2 separate regions of the Homo sapiens genome follow, and region 1 is linked to region 2. The links are contacts of gene promoters, found by promoter capture Hi-C in blood cells and fetal thymus (Javierre and others, 2016). All regions are on one chromosome and are shown on one strand. Each heading gives the region's core, a stretch centred on a gene start or on the middle of the fragment in contact. The rest is flanking DNA. Distances are from core to core; before and after follow the strand shown.

Region 1 (6,429 bases), core at 1,131-3,630, 1.3 Mb before region 2:
TCCTACAGCCCTCAGGGCGGTGGCTGCTGGCCAGCAGCACACCCCTAGAAGTGGACACTTATAAACTTCTGCATCTTTCTACCCCAGCAAACCCTAAGTTCCAGCTTGGGCAAGAAGGACTCTTGCACACAAAGGCACAAAGACATGGGCAGGGTGTGGGCACAGGCAAGGTCTTCAGGGAATGCTGCTGCAGGGGCATTTTCTCCGCCCTCCCTGTCCCTCTCCCCTTCCTTAGGCCCTGTCTCCCTTCACAGTATCTACAGAACTCTCTGAGGCGGGGGTCCCAGCTCTGCAGCAAGCCATGAAATGAAGGGCAAATCCCTTCACCTCTGGGTAGCTCAACTTCTCTGGGAAGCAATAACATAGCAGCTCAGTGTAAGGACTTTGAGGCCACACTGGTCTGGATGCAAATCCATGCTCTGCTACTTCTCAGCTGTGTGACACTGGACATGTTTACTTAACCTTTTATTTATTTTTTATTTTGTATTATTTTTTGAGACGGAGTCTTGCTCTGCTGCCCAGGTTGGAGTGTAGTGGTGCAATCTTCGCTAACTGCAACCTCCACCTCTCAGGTTCAAGTGGTTCTCCTGCCTCAGCCTCCTGAGTAGCTGGGATTACAGGCATAGGCCACCATGCTGGGCTAATTTTTGTATTTTTAGTAGAGACGGGGTTTCATTATGTTGGCCAGTCTGGTCTCGAACTCCTGACCTCATGTGATCCGCCTGCCTTGGCCTCCCAAAGTGCTGGGATTACAGGCGCGAGCCACCACACCTGGCCTACTTAACCTTTTAGAGCCTCAGTTTCCTCAATACTAAAATAGTGCCCACCTTAGATGGCTGCTGAAAGAAGAGACAAAGGAAAAAAGTCATCGGCACAGAGTCTGGCACAAGGGCCTGTGGATTGGGCTGAGTGCTCCTCTCGCGCATCCCCAGCTCTGTCCCCCTTAGTCACTGGCCTCCAGCCACTTGCCTTACTCTGCTGCTCTAACAAGCTGGCACTCTTTCATTACTGTTTCCTCTCCCTGCAACTTATCCCTTTCCCCTAACTCTCCACCGACAAACTCCCCTCAGTTTATTTATTTTGAGATAGGGTCTCACTCTGTCGCCCAGGCTGGAGTGCAGTGGTGCTGTCACAGCTCGCTACAGCCTCAGACTCCTGGGCTCAAGTGATTCTCTCACCTCCGCCCTGAAGTAGCTGGGACCATAGTCCCGTAACACCAAGCAGGCTATTTTTTAATTATTATTATTACTTTTAGTAGAAACAAAGTCTCCCTTACGTTGCCCAGGCTGGTCTCAAACTCCTGAGCTCAAATGATCCTCCCATCTCGGCCTCCCAAAGTGCTGAGATTACAGGCATGAGCCTCCAGTGGTGCCCAGCCTTCCCTCAGTTTAAAAGCTACTTCCCGCCAGGCACAGTGGCTCACGCCTGTAATCTCAACACTTTGGGAGGCCGAGGCGGGCAGATCACATGAGGTCAGGAGTGTGAGACCAGCCTGGCCCACATGGTGAAACCCCATCTCTACTAAAAATACAAAAATTAGCCAGGTTTGGTGGCATGCGCCTGTAATCCCAGCTACTCATGAGGCTGAGGTAGGAGAATGGCTTGAACCTGGGAGGCAGAGGTTGCAGTGAGCCGAGATCATGCTACTGCACTCCAGCCTGGGTGACAGAGTGAGACTCCGTCTCAAAACAAACAAACAAACAAATAAAAAAGCTACTTCCTTGGAGAAGCTTTCTCTTATCCATCCCTTGCGAAAATTACAGCTGCCTGTTAAATATCTCACTGACATCCTCCATTTCATTTTCTCTTTATGGTTGTGATGGTTAATTTTTTTTTTTTTTTTTTTGAGACGGAGTCTCGCTCTGTTGCCCAGGCTGGAGCGCAGTGACGCAATCTCAGCTCACTGCAACCTTCGGCTCACTGCAATTTCCGTCTCCTGGGTTCAAGCAATTCTCCTACCTCAGCCTCCGGAGTAGCTGGGATTACAGGTGCCCGCCACCACGCCCAGCTAATTTTGTATTTTTAGTAGAGACGGGGTTTCACCATGTTGGTCAGGCAGGTCTGGAACTCCCGGCCTCAAGTGATCCGCCCGCCTCGGCCTCCCAAAGTGCTGGGATTACAGGCTTGAGCCACCGTGATGGTTAATTTTAAGTGTCAACTTGACTGGGCTAAGGGATGCTCAAATAGCTGGTAAAATGTTATTTCTAGGTGTATTTGTGAGGCTGTTTCTGGAAGAGATTAGTATTTGAATCAGTAGACTGAGTAAAGAAGACCGCCCTCACCGCTATGGGCAGGCATAATTTAATCTGTTAAGGACCTGAATAGAATAAAAAGGCAGAGGAAGGGCAAATTTGCTCTTCTTTGAGGTGGGACACCATATTTTCCCTGCTTCAGACATCCATGCTCTGATTCTTGCACCTTCAGACGCGGACTGGAACTACTCCAGCTTGCGGAGGGCAGATCCTGGGTACTTCTCAGCGTCCATAATCATGGGAGCTAATGCCTCATAATAAATCTTTTTCTATATCTCTGTATATCCATCCTATTGGTTCTGTTTCTCTGGAGAACGCTGGCTAACACCATGGCACTTACTGCTTATGTGCAAGATTGTTGAACATTCATCTCTCCTACTTGGCTGTCAGCCCGGGGACAGGAGCTGTGTCTGTTTTGTTCTGTGCTGTGCTGTGTTTCCAGTGAGAGGGCTGGCCTAGGTGTTTCTCCGAAGTATGTTCCAGCTTTCGGTACCTCTTTATTTCTTATTTCTTCCTTCCCCTGCTCTCCAAGTTGACCTAAATAGTTTTTGCACCTTTTCTTAGGTTCACTGAATCTCCAAGCAGCGAGGTGTATCTGGAAAGACAGCTCAAGAATTAAGGGTGCTCACCCTTAATTACACTCCATTTTCCTCAGGACAGGCTGGAACAGATTTGGGATGGCGAGCCCCCAAACCAGCACTCTACAGATTTCGGGACCCCTCTTAACTCATTTCCCCCATCCTCCCAATGACGTCTATTCGCCTGCAGCAGACCCGAAGGAAGCTTCGGCTCAATGGTTCATTTGCATGCGCCCGTGCTATTGGTCGGAGGGGCGGCACCGTAGCCAATGGTGTGCAGGGGTGTTGACCGAGCCGCAGCTCTGCGCCGCCGGGTGAGGTAATGGAATCCTGGCTGGACCTGCTGCGGCTCCCTCCGGACTGGCTAGTGACGTAGCGGCTTCCCCGGCCCCACCCCGCCCAGCCCGGCCGCCCCCGGGAGCGCAGCTGGGGCTCGGCCCTGTTCCTTCCGGCCCGGCGTTCCGGTCGCGGGCCCCTCAGGGAGGACCCGCCGGGCCAGATCCCATCTCTGGCGACGCGGAGAAAAATCTGGAAGCCGTCGTCGGAGGATGACCAAATCCTCGCTCCTCTGGGAGTGCGATTACGGGCCTCTCACTTCGTAAATCACGCAGGCCTGAAACGCTCACATTTGTTTACCACGAGCATGTTTGATTTTGTAATTTAACAAATAAAATTGCAGAGGATTTTTAAGAGCCCTGGCCTGGATTTAGGGGAAATCTCGCATTAATTCCAGCTCTGCCATTTCCGGTCTGGAGACCTTGGCCACTTTCTCTTGGGGCCCTGACGCCTTCCATGGCAACTAAGTAGAGCAAACGTGGAAGTGCTTCGAAAACACCAAGTGGGGTCTCCTCATCCTTATGCAATCTGGAGAGTGTAACCCCATCTGGGCGGTGTCTCTGGACAGCCCCTGAGCCCTGAGACAGCCCCAGGAAGACCCGTCTTTGTGTCTCTATTTTTTCGGCCCTTAAATTGCTCTTAAGCCTGGGGAGAGGTCGGGGGACCCCGGCCAGGTAGTTCTTGATCCTCAAGAAGAGGAAGGAAACCATGAAGGGAATCCCTTCCACAGCCCCTCTCCTTATTCAGGGCCAGGGCCTGAGCAGGGGAGCCCCTTCTCTGCCCAAATGCCCTAGGGAACCCCCTTGACATCCTTTTACCCCCGCCCCCGAGGGCCAGGATGGAGGTGGAGTGGAAGGGTGTCTCCTAGGTGGGGTGGAGTTTCAGATGCTGTGAGATGGAAGGGCACCTGGGGAGGGCCACTGAGAGTCTGGCTTATGGTCCTGGGTCCTGTGGCTTACCTTGGCCCACTACTTCCCACCCTCAGGATCTCAGCCCTGCCCTGCCGCATACCTAAGGTTTGGGGGCAGCCTCTCTCCTCCATGGAGTGCCTTTTCTCTATACCCTGCCTGGTCCTGTCTCTTCTTTCACACTGGGCCCTACATTCTCTTCCTCCAGGGAGGCCTCTTGAGACTAGTCCTCTAGATTCTACCCCAATGCCAGCTCAAGGCTTCTTGGAGGCCACTTCTTGGATGTCCTGGCAATGTTTCCATACCTATTCTTGTGTCCTGCCTCCCCATCAGACTAGGAGCCAGCTTTCTGTGTAGGAGCTTGTCCTCTAGGAACCTCCCACAATGTGGGGCGTCACTGGCCATGGTGGCCTGTCTCCCCTCTGCTCCGACTCCCTGGGCCATGCACGTTGTTCACCTTTTCTCTCCTCACCTTTCCTATCTGCAATAGGGGCTGTGAAGCAGTGCCTGTAGAAAGGAGAGGAATTAGATATGAAGGAACAAGAGGCTGGGTAGAAAGAGCACTGGCCTGGGAGTCAGAAGACCAGGGCTATGGAGACAGAAGACCAGGGCTATGGTTCTGGCTGGGCAACTCACTAGCTGAGTGACCTGGATCAGGGAGACAACAACAGGGCAGACGTTTACTGGACATTTGTAATGACTAAGAAGCGACATTGCTCCTATCTGTGCAGCCCCCACGGCCCCCAGTATTCCCAATAAACATACTGGCTGGGCAAAGCTAGGGTAAGCACCTTGGATGTACAGCTTCAAGACAAGGTCCCAAGTCCTCCAAGTCCTCCTGTATGGAAATGGCAGATCTGCCATGATGTGCCAGACTCCGCTTCATGCTTTATGTCTGCTCTCAAAGAGGCACTCTCATGGCAACCCTGTGAGATAGGTTTCTTATCATCTTTGTGTTTGAGGTGAGGAAACTGAAGCCCAGAGAGGGCAAGTAACTTCCCTGGAGTCATGCAGCTGGTAAGAGGTAGAGCCTCTTGTGGGTTAGGGAAATGAGACTCCTAGGGCAGAGCAGGGAGGAGAACTAACTCTGAGTGCCTGCTGTGTACAAGGTACCTCCACATCTGTTCAGTCCTCCGACAACCAGTGTCCATCCCAGACCTCTAGAGACTGCTTCTTCCACCATCTCACGCCGCCTCCACATGCCACCCAAAGCGTGCGTGTTCTGGCATTCCACATTTTAGAATATGTTTTATTTGATTATAAATAGGAGAATATATAATAAAGACAAGTTATGCTAAAAGTATTTATGGAAAGGAGAGACCTCTGTGGGCTGGAAGCCTTCATGGAAAAACTGGTAACTGAGCCCTTTTTTTCCCTTCCTGTCTAAATAAATGTATTTCTCCCACACAGGCAAATATTTTAAAATGTATTTCAAAAGTTAGACTTCTGGAAAAAGAAAGGAAAAGAGGGGGTGGGGTAGCTGCTCCTCTAAGAAGCCCATGTGAAAGAAGCTGCTGGGGTAGGAAACAGGAGGGCACAGGGTGAGTGAGGAAAAGTCAGTCCCTTTCCCCCACCCCAACGCCTTGTCATTTTTGAAGCCTCAGTTTCTTTATCTGCAAATTGACCTAATACTTGAACCTGGGAGAGAAATGTACAGGTTCTTGGGATGTGATTTTGAGAGACAAACTCTGCAGAGGTTCTTGGAATCATTATGAAGAATGAGAGAAAGGGAATTCTGAGTTGCGCCAAGAGTTTAGGATTTGTCCAGCAAAGGATTTCTGGGGGTGGGCAGTGGGGTGGAGAGAGGAATGCAGCCCCTGGAATGAGGGCTGAGTGGAGGTGTGGGGCCTCTTTTGGAGAATTTTGAGCACAGAAGAGATTCTTTGCTGCGTGGGGCCTGGGCTGGGTGCTGGAGATTGTATAGCATGCTCATAATTTAAGGTGGCTCCAAAAAGGATCAGGGGCTAGTGGCTGGCACAGCAGAGCACATGACTGGATCCTCCCTAATGGGTGTTCCCCAATGACCTTGCCTGTACGGGGGTATAGGAGCAGAGATGGTAACCCCCAACCCCACCCAGCCAGCCCCAATCCCATTGCTCCAACTTTGGCCGGGCCTTCCTGACCAGCCTCTCCTGAGTGGGCAGCTGCTGGGGGAGAAGGATTTGCTCAGGACAGGATGGTTCTTCCATTTCCAAAGAGGGCTCCAGTCACATGGGAGAGAGAAACCTTCCAAGTGCCTGCACCCCCAGGAAAATTCTTACCATGGAAGCCTGGGCCTGAAGACTCTGGTCAGAGGAGGGTGGGCTTCCCAGGGCTTCCTGGTCACGGTGGTGGGCCTCTGAGTGCATGAAGCAC
Region 2 (6,394 bases), core at 1,273-3,772:
TTGAAAAAAGAACCCAGAGGATTCTGAGAGTGTGTGACATTTCATTTTGAGAAACCTTGATACAGTGAGAGATGAAATTAATTGTCATGTATTCTGATAAATTTTATAATAAAGGTATCTAAGAGGATGATGCCATTTGATCCGTCCTGGGAGTAGGCTTTTTTTTTTTTTTTTCAGGAGCTAGACAGTAAAAATTAAAAAGCATCTATATATTTACTTTTTTTTTTTTCTTTGAGATGGAGTTTCACTGTCGTTGCCCAGGCCCGAGTGCAATGGCACGATCTTGGCTCACTACAACTTCTGCCTCCTGGATTCAAGCGATTCTCCTGCCTCAGCCTCCCAAGTGGCTGGGATTACAGACATGTCCCACCATGCCTGGCTAGTTTTATATTTTTAGTAGAGACGGGGTTTCTCCATGTTGGTCAAGCTGGTCTTGAACTCCTGACCTCAGGTGATCCGCCTGCCTCGGCCTCCCAAAATGCTGGGATTACAGGCATGAGCCACCGCGCCCAGTCTATATATTTACTTATTTTGGAGCAAGGTCTTGCTTTGTTGTCCTGGCTGGAGTGCAGTGGCAGGATTTGAGCTCACTGCAGCCTCAACCTCCTGGGTTCAAGCGATTCTTCCACCCCAGCCTCCCGAGTAGCTGGGACTACTGGCGCACATCACCACGTCTGGCTAATTTTTGTTATTTTTTGTGGAGACGGGGTTTCACCATGTTGCCCAGGCTGGTCTTTAACTCCTGGGCTCAAGCGATCCGCCCGCCTCGGCCTCCCATAGTGCTGGGATTACAGGTCTGAGCCATTGCGCCCGGCGGCAGTTTAATTCCCTCAAGAATTTATAGAAAACTTTTGGTGGAACTATTCTGGGTTGGAATCTAACACTACAACTCATTTGCTTTGTGACCTTGGGTAAGTCACTTCTCAGCCTAAATGTCTTCACTTATAAAATACATAATATAGCTGATACTTAATAAAATCTTCCTTTTAAGGATGACATGGAATACTAACTGCCTCCCTGACTTAGGCACCTAACACGGTAGGCAGTCAGCAATCACTTCACCTTTTTACCTGTTTAAAGCAGCAGAGGCCTCAGTTCTTACCTTCAAAGGGCTTAAAATAGTTTAGGAGAATTCACATTTTAAAACATAAGAACATATAAGCAGGTGACAACATATAAGATACAAATACTGAAGGACATGACCTCATCGTGTCATTGACAAGCTATTAAGGCCGGCTCCACCAAAACACGGATAAAGAGGAGGCCAGAAATCCAGGTGCCTGCAGTAAAGTTTCTTAACCTTCGTGATTGCAAAAAGCTGGAGCTCAGCTATCTTGCTTTATGCATAGGCGGTATTTACTATTAAGGGGGAAAAAATGGAAGTGACTTATCCGCACTTTAGCCTCAAGGCTTGAAAAGTTAACCAGTCGTTTAAGTGGTTAGCGCCTTTGTCTGGGGGAACTTAATAAAATCGCGTTTTCTGGAGTCTCACGGAGACTCTGCATATTGGTCAGCTCAGTATTAACTTATTCGGTGAGTGCTGTCACCAGATCTCGTCCCGCCTGCATTCCCAGGGCTTGCAGCGACATTGAGGCATCTGCCCGCCTGTCCGACCACCCGGGAGGGGGGTAAGATTTGAGAGGTACTTTATAGGGGCAGTTAAATGAAGACGCAAACAAGTCCTAGTGTTGATGCGGAACTGCGCGCCGAATGCCTTGGCTCTGACACCTGTTGAGCTGCAGGACTCCGCTAAAGCGTCCCACCTAATGACTGTAACAACGTCCCCTGAGGAGGGCCAATATGGCGACGGTCTCCTCTTGGCATAGCCCTCTTCCCTCCCTCATGATGGGCAGCTCCAGTAACGCCCATTGGCTAACTAGGAGGCGGTGCCAGGCCTACTTCGTCCCCTCATTGGATTGAATAACTGAGGGAGCCGCCAATTCTCCTCTGCCACTCCAAGTTTCCGCCCTCAGTTAATTCGGCGTTTAATTGGCTTTTAGTTCACGTCAATATGCGTCCTTTCCTGTCTCTTTTCAGTCTAACTCCAATCATAACGTTCCTGGCTGCCCGCCTGATTTCTGATTGGTTTTAATCAGCTTCATCCTCTCCTATTCCTGCCTACTTCTTACCTCTCCGCCCACTAGGATTTTGCCCAAGCATATCCCGGATTCTGGTTGGCCGTTGTTCTGTCATTCCTATCAAAGCTTTGCCTATCCCTACGTCTCAGGGAGCCCGCCTGCCGGTTGACTGGTTTCCTTCCAAGCCAATCATCTCCAGCTCCCGCCCATCTTCACTTCCTGCATCCTTCATTGGCTTTTAACACTGAGAGGGCGGTCTTTTTAGGCGGACACCAGGCACGCAACTTAGTCTCACACGCCTTGGAGAGCAAGCGAGTCTTGCCATTGGATAATTCCACCGTCTTTCTTCTGCAAGTCCCTCCTTTCCCCCTCCCTCATTGGGCGGGGCAGCAGAGAAGGGGCGGGGCCTAGGTTGGGCTTGTGGCGCGCTGCTCCCTCCTCCTTACCCCCCCCTCCCTGTCCGGTCCGGGTTCGCTTGCCTCGTCAGCGTCCGCGTTTTTCCCGGCCCCCCCCAACCCCCCCGGACAGGACCCCCTTGAGCTTGTCCCTCAGCTGCCACCATGAGCGGTAAGGATGAGTCCACTCCAAGCTTAGGGGTGGGAGGCGAGTGAGGGGGCGCGCGCGAGGGCCGACCGGGCGATCCCCGCCGTGAAGCGGGGGCGGGCGGGAGGCGGCGGCGGCGGCGGCCTAGGTCCCGCCCGGGGCGGAGGGAAGGGAGGGAGACGGGGCAGTGGCGGGGCCTCCGAGGAGGAGGGGGATGGGCCGCCCGCCCCGGGGGAGGGGGCAGCGTGGCCTCGCCCGCCCCCTGCCCGCCCCGGCCACGGGGGACGGGCCTTACCCCCCACTACTCGGCCGCCCGCCTGAGGCTCCTCCCGCCGGGGGCTGGAGCCGCGGGGGCGGCCCGAGCAGCGAAGGCCCCGCCCGGGCCAACCGCCTGCCTGGTCCGCCCTCTGGTCGCCGCCTGCTCCAAGGCCCTCCTCCCCCCACTTTCCGTAGATTTCCCTTCCCCCCCGCCCCCCACCGTCCCGCCCTTTCCACGCCCCTCACCCCGAAACCGCCCTTTCCCTCAGGGCCCGCCCTCCGCCCCGAAACCTTCTGACTACTAACCTGTAGATCCCTTTAGTTCCTTAGCAGTATTCACAAATGTTTTTCTACTCACACTTTTTACTTCTTTTTCCCCTCTCGTTACTTTTCACACTTGGATTTTTGTTTGTCTTTTTTTTTTTTTTTTTTTTTGAGACGGAGTTTTCGCTCTTGTTACCCAGACTGGAATGCAATGGTGCGATCTCGGCTCACTGCAACCTCTGCCTCCCGGATTCAGGCGATTCTCCTGCCTCAGCCTCCGGGAGTAGCTGGAATTACAGGCATGCGCCACCACACCCGGCTAATTTTGTATTTTTAGTAGAGACAGGGTTTCTCCATGTTGGTCAGGCTGGTCTCAAAACTCCCGACCCCAGGTGATCTGCCTGCCTCCGCCTCCCAAAGTAATGGGATTACAGGCGTGACCACCGCGCCTGGCCTCTCCATCTCTTTTAAACTTAATTTTAGCAAGCTTTCCATGCACCCACATGTTGTTTTATGCCTTACCTGTCCTTTTCCTTTTTTTCCCTTAGGATACTTTTTCTTATTTAGAAACTCTCACCATGCCTACCGTCCTTCACATTTCCTATCCCCAAAGCACTTTTTGAATGTTTTCTTAGTTTAATTTTGTACAAGGGAGAATTAAGGCCCACTTTTGGCACATTGAACCTAGTTCATGTCCTGCATGCCCTGCAGCTCCCCTCTGCCCTCCAATCCATTTTCTTTATACTGGTGGCTTTCGCCTTCCTGTTAGTCATTGCTATTTCATCATAGCCTCCTTTTATCCTTCCTACTTCATTTCTTTTCTTCCCTCAAGTTTACGTTGTTTGTTTTTTAATTATTTTAGACCAAGATCACTCCATGGATGAAATGACAGCTGTGGTGAAAATTGAAAAAGGAGTTGGTGGCAATAATGGGGGCAATGGTAATGGTGGTGGTGCCTTTTCACAGGCTCGAAGTAGCAGCACAGGCAGTAGCAGCAGCACTGGAGGAGGAGGGCAGGTAAGTGATAATCATAGAGTGGGGAAGGTGTTGAGAAGATGTAAATATTCTTAGATAATTGCCTTACTCTTCACAGAAAGCGTTTTAGGGAGAGACTAAACCATTTTATAGATAAGGAAGTAAGAGAATGGAGATCCCCAAAGACAAAGGAGTTTCAGCAATACAGATAGGTCAGCTTTTTGTTTCTGTTTTTTGCTCCTTGTCTGCACTACGTTGCTGTTTATTTGTTGTATACTGCCCCCTAGGCTGGCAGCTGGGTGTCACTAACTCCTTTCCTCTCCCTTATTTTCGGCCAGGAGTCCCAGCCATCCCCTTTGGCTCTGCTGGCAGCAACTTGCAGCAGAATTGAGTCACCCAATGAGAACAGCAACAACTCCCAGGGCCCGAGTCAGTCAGGGGGAACAGGTGAGCTTGACCTCACAGCCACACAACTTTCACAGGGTGCCAATGGCTGGCAGATCATCTCTTCCTCCTCTGGGGCTACCCCTACCTCAAAGGAACAGAGTGGCAGCAGTACCAATGGCAGCAATGGCAGTGAGTCTTCCAAGAATCGCACAGTCTCTGGTGGGCAGTATGTTGTGGCTGCCGCTCCCAACTTACAGAACCAGCAAGTTCTGACAGGACTACCTGGAGTGATGCCTAATATTCAGTATCAAGTAATCCCACAGTTCCAGACCGTTGATGGGCAACAGCTGCAGTTTGCTGCCACTGGGGCCCAAGTGCAGCAGGATGGTTCTGGTCAAATACAGATCATACCAGGTGCAAACCAACAGATTATCACAAATCGAGGAAGTGGAGGCAACATCATTGCTGCTATGCCAAACCTACTCCAGCAGGCTGTCCCCCTCCAAGGCCTGGCTAATAATGTACTCTCAGGACAGACTCAGTATGTGACCAATGTACCAGTGGCCCTGAATGGGAACATCACCTTGCTACCTGTCAACAGCGTTTCTGCAGCTACCTTGACTCCCAGCTCTCAGGCAGTCACGATCAGCAGCTCTGGGTCCCAGGAGAGTGGCTCACAGCCTGTCACCTCAGGGACTACCATCAGTTCTGCCAGCTTGGTATCATCACAAGCCAGTTCCAGCTCCTTTTTCACCAATGCCAATAGCTACTCAACTACTACTACCACCAGCAACATGGGAATTATGAACTTTACTACCAGTGGATCATCAGGGACCAACTCTCAAGGCCAGACACCCCAGAGGGTCAGTGGGCTACAGGGGTCTGATGCTCTGAACATCCAGCAAAACCAGACATCTGGAGGCTCATTGCAAGCAGGCCAGCAAAAAGAAGGAGAGCAAAACCAGCAGACACAGCAGCAACAAATTCTTATCCAGCCTCAGCTAGTTCAAGGGGGACAGGCCCTCCAGGCCCTCCAAGCAGCACCATTGTCAGGGCAGACCTTTACAACTCAAGCCATCTCCCAGGAAACCCTCCAGAACCTCCAGCTTCAGGCTGTTCCAAACTCTGGTCCCATCATCATCCGGACACCAACAGTGGGGCCCAATGGACAGGTCAGTTGGCAGACTCTACAGCTGCAGAACCTCCAAGTTCAGAACCCACAAGCCCAAACAATCACCTTAGCCCCAATGCAGGGTGTTTCCTTGGGGCAGACCAGCAGCAGCAACACCACTCTCACACCCATTGCCTCAGCTGCTTCCATTCCTGCTGGCACAGTCACTGTGAATGCTGCTCAACTCTCCTCCATGCCAGGCCTCCAGACCATTAACCTCAGTGCATTGGGTACTTCAGGAATCCAGGTGCACCCAATTCAAGGCCTGCCGTTGGCTATAGCAAATGCCCCAGGTAAGATTTCCAATCTTGTGCATTTATTGGGAACCAACTCTAGCATCGTAGCTGAAACTTGAGTCTAAAGAAAGGAATAGAGCCTTTTGAGATAACACTTTCTTGAGGGTTAGTCATTTAGGCAAATAAATTTGAGAAATAGAGATTCTGTTTAAGTAATTTGGAACTGAAGTAAAGGAAACTTCTCCAGTTAGTTTGAGGAAGGAGCACTTCTGGGCAATATTCTGGAGTCTGTAATACTCAGTGTTTTTGGTGCTGCAGAATAATGGTTGACAAGCTTTCTGTAAAGGGCCAGATAGTAACGTAAATATTTTAGACATTGTGGGCCTCATGTGGTCACATTTTCTTTTCTTTTTTTTTTTTTTGAGACAGAGTCTTGCTCTGTCATCCAGGCTGGAGTGCAGTGGCGCGATCTCGGCTCACTG

Evidence for each region. The method cuts DNA at HindIII sites, captures the fragments that hold promoters and counts their contacts. A CHiCAGO score of 5 or more calls a contact.
Region 1: a contact is called between a fragment that was not itself captured here and the fragment with the promoter of SP1 in region 2, in 1 of 17 cell types (fetal thymus). The highest score is 5.2, in fetal thymus.

What each region holds. Positions count from the first base shown.
Region 1 is chr12:52,029,952-52,036,380 of GRCh38, forward strand. It overlaps LOC124902934 (a long non-coding RNA gene), which reads left to right. Exons shown (of 2, transcript XR_007063311.1): 2 at 2,817-3,522. It also overlaps a transcript of NR4A1 not described here. Among named protein-coding and RNA genes, the nearest start is that of NR4A1, 18 kb to the right of the region's middle. RefSeq lists a silencer at 3,046-3,375. The HindIII fragment of the contact is 1,305 bases long and covers 1,729-3,033 here.
Region 2 is chr12:53,377,654-53,384,047 of GRCh38, forward strand. SP1 (Sp1 transcription factor) reads left to right here and starts at 2,523. Exons shown (of 6, transcript NM_138473.3): 1 at 2,523-2,645; 2 at 4,006-4,160; 3 at 4,457-5,969. The coding sequence starts at 2,639. RefSeq lists enhancers at 1,616-2,116, 2,020-2,319, 2,152-2,446, 3,297-4,055, 4,468-4,717 and a silencer at 2,560-3,189. The HindIII fragment of the contact is 463 bases long and covers 2,203-2,665 here.